2 separate regions of the Homo sapiens genome follow, and region 1 is linked to region 2. The links are contacts of gene promoters, found by promoter capture Hi-C in human tissues and cell types (Jung and others, 2019). All regions are on one chromosome and are shown on one strand. The core of a region is centred on a gene start or on the middle of the fragment in contact, and the rest is flanking DNA. Distances in the headings are between cores, read along the strand shown. Region 1 has its middle 16 kb from the start of MIR3680-1. Region 2 holds the start of USP31 (ubiquitin specific peptidase 31).

What was found. The method cuts DNA at HindIII sites, captures the fragments that hold promoters and counts their contacts. A contact is called where the count stands out against the background at its distance.
Region 1: a contact is called between a fragment that was not itself captured here and the fragment with the promoter of USP31 in region 2, in 1 of the 25 tissues and cell types used here (dorsolateral prefrontal cortex).

The regions. Positions count from the first base shown.
Region 1 is chr16:21,520,210-21,524,000 of GRCh38, reverse strand. It overlaps the pseudogene SLC7A5P2. Among named protein-coding and RNA genes, the nearest start is that of MIR3680-1, 16 kb to the right of the region's middle. RefSeq lists enhancers at 1-260, 1,728-2,462, 2,463-3,195, 3,196-3,791 and a silencer at 3,176-3,791. The HindIII fragment of the contact is 7,216 bases long and covers 1-3,791 here.
Region 2 is chr16:23,147,238-23,151,134 of GRCh38, reverse strand. It overlaps USP31 (ubiquitin specific peptidase 31), which reads left to right and starts at 1,683. Exons shown (of 16, transcript NM_020718.4): 1 at 1,683-2,497. The coding sequence starts at 1,865. RefSeq lists an enhancer at 1,283-1,502 and silencers at 1,683-1,782, 1,933-1,982, 2,083-2,182, 2,313-2,542. The HindIII fragment of the contact is 9,135 bases long and covers 1-3,897 here.

The sequences.
Region 1 (3,791 bases), core at 655-3,154, 1.6 Mb after region 2:
AACAGCCCTTTCTTCTCTCACAGTCCCGGAGGCCAGAGGCCAACATCAAGGTGGTGGCAGGGCCAGACTCCCTCGGGGGCTCCAGGACCCCTCCTGCCTCTTCCAGCTTCTGGGGGCTCCAGGTGTCCCTTGACTCAGAGCCGCCCACTCCCATCCCCGCCTCCATCTTCACGCTCCAGCCACTGAGACCATGCCCGACACAGCAAGTGTGGGCTGCTGCAACTGCTGTCCCTCCGTGTTCCCTCTGCACACATTGGAAAGAAAGTCTGAGGGTGGAAGCCAGGCATTCGGCCAGCCCTGGGAGCACAGTTCGGCAGTGACGGCAACACCAGCAGCTCAGGGTCCTCCACCCGCCAGCCCCGGGAGCACAGTTCTGCAGTGAGGATGACACCAGAGGCTCAGGGTCCTCCACCTGCCAGCCCTGGGAGCACAGTTCTGCAGTGATGGCAATGCCAGCGGCTCAGGGTCTTCTACCTGCTGGTCCCCAGGAGGCGGGCGCAGGTGTCTCCCTGCTTCACAGAAGAGGAAACTGAGACTTTGAAAGCTGAGCCGAGTCACTCGCCTGGTGCCACATTAACCAGCAAGTGGTAGAGGTGAGATCTGAACCCAGGACCGTTCGATTCTAGGCCTGAACTGCTTTTATCTTTTGGATGTATAGTTCACACATAACATAACATTAACCGTTAGTCATTTAAACACGTACAAATCCGTGGTGTTTAAGTCACTCCCAGTGTTGGGCAACCATCCCCATCATCTAGTTCCAAGACATTTTATCACCCCAAAGAGAGACCCCATCCACTCAGCCCTCACTCTCCATCGCCCCTTCCCCCCGCCCTAAGCAGCCACGAATCTCGTCCGTCTCTCTGGATCCTCCTGTCCTGAACATTCGTGCACTCGGAATCATACAACCCGTGGTCACTGACCCTTTCACGCAGCCCAGTGTTTTCAGGGGTCCTGCACATTGCAGCGCGTCTTCCTGTGTGCAGCTGAATGACTCTCCAAGGGATGGCGGACTACGCTGGGTTTATCCATCATCCACGGATGGACGGGCCTGAACTCTGACCCCGGCTCCTACTGTTGCTTCCATGTCATCTTTTTTTTTTTTTTCAAGACCAGTCTCGCCGGGCGCAGTGGCTCACGCCTGTAATCCCAGCACTTTGGGAGGCCGAGGCGGGGGGATCACAAGGTCAGGAGATCAAGACCATCCTGGCTAACACCGTGAAACCCCGTCTCTGCTAAAAATACAAAAAATTAGCCGGGCATGGTGGTGAGCGCCTGTAGTCCCAGCTACTTGGGAGGCTGAGGCAGGAGAATGGTGTGAACCCAGGAGGCGGAGCTTGCAGTAAGCCGAGATCGCGCCACTGCACTCCAGCCTGGGTAACAGAGCGAGACTCCGTCTCAAAAAAAAAAAAAAAAAAAAAAAAAAAAGACCGGTCTCATTCTGTCGCCTAGGCTGGAGTGCAGTGGCGTGATCTCAGCTCACTGCAGCCTCAACCTTCCCCAGCTCAGGTGATCCTTCTACCTCAGCCTCCCCAGCAGCTGGGACTACAGGTGCACCACCACCACGCTGGGCTAGTTTTTGTATTTTTTGTAGAGACGGGGTCTCCCTATGTTGCCCAGGCTGGTCTTGAACTCCTGGGCTCAAGAGATTTTCCCACCTTGGTCTCCCAAAGGGCTGGCATTACAGGCGTGAGCCACCGCGCCCAGCCTCCAAGTCATCTTTCACACGCAGAGCACGCCTGAGAGCAGCAACAAGACTAACGTTGGGGCCAAAGCTAAGAAGTGGGGCGGAGCCTCCCTGGTGGCCGGTCGTCAGCCCAGTGCCTGAAATGCATGCAAAGTCTATTTTTATTTTGCGTAGTTGAACCTAAGCAAAAAATCTGGCCCTATAATCTCTAACCTTGCTCCTAACTGGCACCTACCCTATTGCACAAGAAGCTATCTAGGGGAGGACTCAGTGAGCACTCGGTGAGTTTGTCCAGCCATGGTGGTACTGTCTCCTTCCCTCTGCAGGCACAGCGGGAAGAATAGGGTGGATGGAGGGCTCTCTGCACCTTCCACAGCCCGCAGCGTGGACGGCAGATTACAAGTTAGTATCTGTGCGACCTCCGCACTCCCCTGCCGGTGGCTGCCTGGGCTGCTGAGATTTCGCTTGGTTTTATCACTGCAGAGGAATGCCTGCCATACCGGGGGGCGAGCAAGGTCCAGAATGACAAGCCGTGGCATTCCTCAGCCGCCTCCTCCCCGGGGTGGGGCCTGGACATTCCTGGCTGCAGCTAGAGGTCCCAGCACGACAGGGATTCTGACCCCCCCTCCACCACGGCTATTGTTCAGAATTCTGTGGATTCCAGAGGCATCTGCCCAGCAGACTGTCTTGCTGTGAACACCCAGCTCTGCAACCGGTGTTTGCGTGTTTGCCCTGGGAGGCTGAACGCTCACCCAGAACAAAGGCCTCCCCACATGCCTGCTGTGAGCTTCCAAGTACTCGTTAGGACACACGCCAAGGAACCCCGGGTTGGGGGGATACCGAGGAGCTTCCTCCCTGACCCACACACACCCTTTGAACAGGTCTTTGGCTGCTCACCAGTCTGGTCAATCTCGGGGCAGTATTTATATTCCTTCCCGTTTCCAGGCCTAGGAGCCTTGGCATCCTGCTCTCGCCTCTAACTGAAATTACCTCTCAACCCTTTTTAGCTAAGATGCCTCTCGCATTCCCCAGGAATAACAAGCTTTAAAGCCCCTTCACACTGAAGCCTGCCTTTGAATTTCCCAGCTAGATTTGGGGGTGGGGGTCTTATGGCTCCCGGTGAACCCCCGGTTCTGTTGATTAAATTGAGCTCAGGCAGAGTGCTGGCTTCCCAAAGCCTGTGTTATTACTGCTTCTCAAAGCTACGGGCACCGGATCGCCATCTTTGGCAAGATTCTTTTGGGATACAATGGGAATTACTGGGTGGCCTCGGTTCGGTTCTTCCCTCGTCTCAGTTCGCGGCTCACCAGCCACATTGATGCAGCCCCCAGGCTGGAAGGAGGCTGCAGGAGCTTCCCCTCAGGTCATCTTCTCATCCCTCCCCCGTGCCCCAGGAGCTGGTTGTGGGGGCGGTTCCATCCCCTCGGCCCATCCGGGACAGGAGCCTAGGTTCCCTTCGGGGGGTACCCCAAACCCCATCCTTGGCCTCAGGCCAGCCCTGGTGCACTGCCCGCTCCCAGGCTTGACGAGAGGCTGCGGGCCAGTGGGTGAAGGGGCTCGCCCTGACTGCCAGGCCCCGCCCAGGCGCACCCGGGAGGACGGGCTGGGATGACGCGGGCGCCGGGGGGGTAGGTCGCGAGGCCGGGGTCTCCATGGCGCAGGAGTACGGGGGCCTTCGAGGACCACGCGGGCCTGGGAATCGCCTGCCAGGCTAGGCCGGACGACGCACGTGCTCCGAGCTGGGTCGAGGGGGCGGGGCTGAGGGCCGCGGCCGGGCCACGGGTCGGGGAGGAGCCGCGGACGGTGGGCGGGGCCAGTGGGCCGGGGCCTAAAAGGCGGCGCGGGCGGGGTTCCTGACGCAGCTGCGGGCGGCGGGCGGCGAGCGGCGCGCACAATCCTCGCTCGGCTGCGGCTCCCGGGTGTCCCAGGCCCGGCCGGTAAGCAGAGCATGGCGGGTGCGGGCCCGAAGCGGCGCGCGCTAGCGGCCCCGGTGGCCGAGGAGAAGGAAGAGGCGCGGGAGAAGATGATGGCCGCCAAGCGCGCGGACGGCGCGGCGCCGGCAGGCGAGGGCGAGGGCGTGACCCTGCAGGGGAACATCACGCTA
Region 2 (3,897 bases), core at 434-2,933:
TGGAGGGGGTGATATCTAAGGTGGGACTTTAAGGATGAGGGGAAGTTAGCTAAGTAGAAAGGTTCTAAGTTAGCTAAGGAAAGGTTCAAGGGAGAGGGAACGGCTCCAGCAAAGGCCCTCGAGTCTAGATCAAACTGCCCAGAAGTTGAGGGCCATTGCATTCACATTTTAGTGTGAATAATCAGATGGCTTTCTTCCTGGTGTCCAGATAAGAATTTTGACTAAGAGGAGAGTGGAGCCGATTAGGGACAGTGCAGAGCACCCTGGAGATGTCATCATAGAGCCCTACTTACATTGGGGAGGGAGGTCAAAGGTAAAAACCATTTACTTTGAAACGTGGTGTAAGGTGGCCTTCATGTTTTAAAAAGGAGGAAGGGCTCTCCCTTCTCTGATTTCTCTCTTCTGCCTCAGGACTCAGACTAGCCCTTTTAGCAGAGGGGAGCCTATAGAGAGGAGGTCATATACTAGTTGATTTTGGACTAAAGGCATCCCAAAGATGTACTATTTTTTGCTCCCTGCACTATTTTTTTTTTAATGGAACCAACGTTTAAAAATAGGATTTCTGCCTTCTCTTAAAACATCAGATGATCTGGTAACGCTGAGCTCCTGTTCTCACATGGGAACAACTGGCTGGAGCTGAGTGGCAGCCACCTCTTTAGAAAGATGTTAATTTGAAGTCTGCTATAGTCCCCATCATTCCTTATATTTCCCCCAACACTGAGACCCAAGTCACTTGAAAGTCAATATGATGATTCAAACACCAGGATTCTTCACTCATTTGTGGGTTTGTGACCTGTGATATTTGTGGATTCGTGACCTTTGGTTTAGAGGTCAAGTATAGGGGTTGTAAATAAAACTTGGGTTTGAATCAGATAAGAACTGTACCAATCTCAAAGACGGTGAATTAAAGATTAAAGAAAATATTGCATGCTTGGCATAATGTGTGGAACACAACAGCTATTGTAAACACCCAGTAGGAATGTAAGCTGCAAGAGGGCAGGTAGAAACCGTGCTAATTTAATCCGCTGGGGATATGACATTTGATTCTAATTTAATAGGTTTAATTCTTTGCAATATCCCCAGTAACTGCTGAATGAATGAGTGAGTGAATGAATGAATGGAATGATGAATGATGGGAGAGCCCGGAGGAGTTTTAAAGGCTGGAATGAAAAGGAAAGTAGTTATGATAACAGCGTTTCGCTGGGACTCCAAGGTGCAGCCAGGAAGAAAAGCCCGCTGGGACGTGCCAGGGTCTGTGACTGCGCTCCGCTGGCACCCAGAGGGTAGGTATCTGCAACGTCCCTTGGGAGCCAGACAGGGCTGACTTGCCCAGGACCTGTCAGGGCCATGTCCACCAGCTCTTGCACGGTCTGGTAACTGACAGCATCCTGATTCCTGCACGTTCCCGCCTCTGCCATCTGACCAGCAAAGACAGAGACCCACCCCGGGGATCCACCATCCAACGGGAGCCCAGCCTTTTCCTCCAAGCCGGGACGGCGCCCACACTAGACATGGCCTCCCTCGGGCTTCACGCAGCAGGACCGCGCCCGCAGCCTCCAGGCATCGCGTCCGGCTGGAGAGGCAGCTACCGTCCCACAGTGAACATGGCGGCCGAGGCGGCTTCAGCGCCGGGCGGGCGGCGCCGGGAGGCACGTCACGTGAGCGGCTCAGCTGGGCGGACCGCGCGCGCGCCCGCTGGCCCCGCCGGCCGCCGCTCGCTCGCTGGCTCGGCTGCGCTTTGAGGTGTGTGGGGCGTCGAGCCCCCGGGCCCGGTGAGGCGCGGCGCTGCGGGATGCGGCGGCGGCCGTGGCGGGGCCGCGGGCCGGGCGGGCGGGCGCGGTGATGAGTGTCTGCGGCCGCCGCCATGTCCAAGGTAACGGCGCCTGGGTCCGGGCCGCCGGCGGCGGCGAGCGGGAAGGAGAAGCGCTCCTTCAGCAAGCGGCTGTTTCGGAGCGGCCGCGCTGGCGGCGGCGGCGCGGGGGGCCCCGGGGCGTCCGGGCCGGCCGCGCCTTCCTCGCCCTCCTCGCCCTCCTCTGCACGCTCGGTGGGCAGCTTCATGAGCCGCGTTCTCAAGACGCTGTCCACGCTCTCGCACCTTAGCTCTGAGGGCGCCGCCCCAGACCGCGGCGGCCTCCGCAGCTGCTTCCCGCCCGGGCCGGCCGCCGCGCCCACGCCGCCGCCGTGCCCGCCGCCGCCCGCCTCTCCCGCGCCGCCCGCTTGCGCCGCCGAGCCGGTGCCCGGCGTGGCGGGGCTCCGCAACCACGGCAACACGTGCTTCATGAACGCCACGCTGCAGTGCCTCAGCAACACCGAGCTCTTCGCCGAGTACCTGGCGCTGGGCCAGTACCGGGCGGGGCGGCCCGAGCCCTCGCCTGACCCGGAGCAGCCTGCGGGCCGCGGCGCGCAGGGCCAGGGCGAGGTCACTGAGCAGCTGGCGCACCTGGTGCGGGCCCTCTGGACCCTGGAGTACACCCCGCAGCACAGCCGCGACTTCAAGGTGAGCCCGCGCGCCGCCGCGCCCCCACTGCACCCCGAGCCCCTGGGGCACCTGCCCGCCCAGGTCTTCCTTCCCTCGGTTCCTCTTGGCCCGGCAGGCTTCTGCATTGGTTGCTCCGAGTGGTCTGGGCAGTCGACCAGTGATTTTAAGGAGATTCATTCATTCATTCATTTATTCACTCACTCACTCACTCAAACATGTATTTATTGAGAACTTACTACATACGTGCCCATACTCTGTGATAATAGGCAATGGGAGTGACGTTGCAATGAACAAGACTATCCGCCTTCATGGAACTTGCATTTTTGTGGGGTGGGAGTGTTGAGCATGGGTTCAAATCCTGGTTCTGCCACTTACTAGCAATGTGACGTCGGGTAAGTTAAGCAGCCTCTCTGTTCTTACAGTTTCTTCATCTGGGGGACCTACTTTGTAAGGTGGTTGTGAGCTGCAAACAAGTTAATATATTAAATCGAACACTGTGGAATTACCCATATTTAACCGTTTTTTATTTACAGATTGGCACTTTTATAGGGTTCAACCTGATAAGTAAAATACTTCCATATCATGTGTATTTGCTGCTATTATTTTTGTTATTAAAGACTTGAAGAAGTTAACGAGATAATATCAGATAGTGGTTTGAAGAAAGAAAAACCTGCTGCTGTGATTGATGTGCTGACAGGCTACTTTTTATTTTTATTTTATTTTTAGAGACAGGGTCTTGCTCTGTTGCCCAGGCTGGAGTGCAGTGCTCACATAGCCTCAAACTCCTGGGCTCAAGCAATCCTCCCGCCTCACCTTCCAGAGTATTTAATAGCTGGGACTACAGACACACACCACCATACCTACCTATTTTTTATTTTTAAAACACTTTTGTAGAGACGGGGGTTTTGCTGTGTTGCCCAGACTGGTCTTGAACTCTTGTCCTCAAGCCACTCTCCCCGCTTTGGCCTCCCAAAGTGCTGGGATTACAGGGGTGAGCTATACATCCCTGGGGGTATGTATGGCCCTTGGCCAAGCCCTCCTTTGCTGTTTGCTGGTGGGGCTGCAAGTGTAGTGAGAGGGTGAGATTTGAGAGCCGAGTGGTGGGCTGGGACCGGATGGTATGGGACCATTTAGGATGCACTAAGAAATTGGGCGGTTACTCTAAGCAGAAGGGGAACATGATGTGAGATTGTGTAAGGGATACTTTCAGGTGGGACATGAATATGGTATTAAACAGCATGGAATCGGGCGGGGCGCAGTGGCTCATGCCTGTAATCCTAGCACTTTGGGAGGCCAAGGCGGGTGGATCACCTGAGGTCCGGGGGTTCGAGACCAGCCTGACCAACATGGAGAAACCCCATCTCTACTAAAAATACAAAATTAGACGGGCGTGGTGGTTCATGCCTGTTATCCTGGCT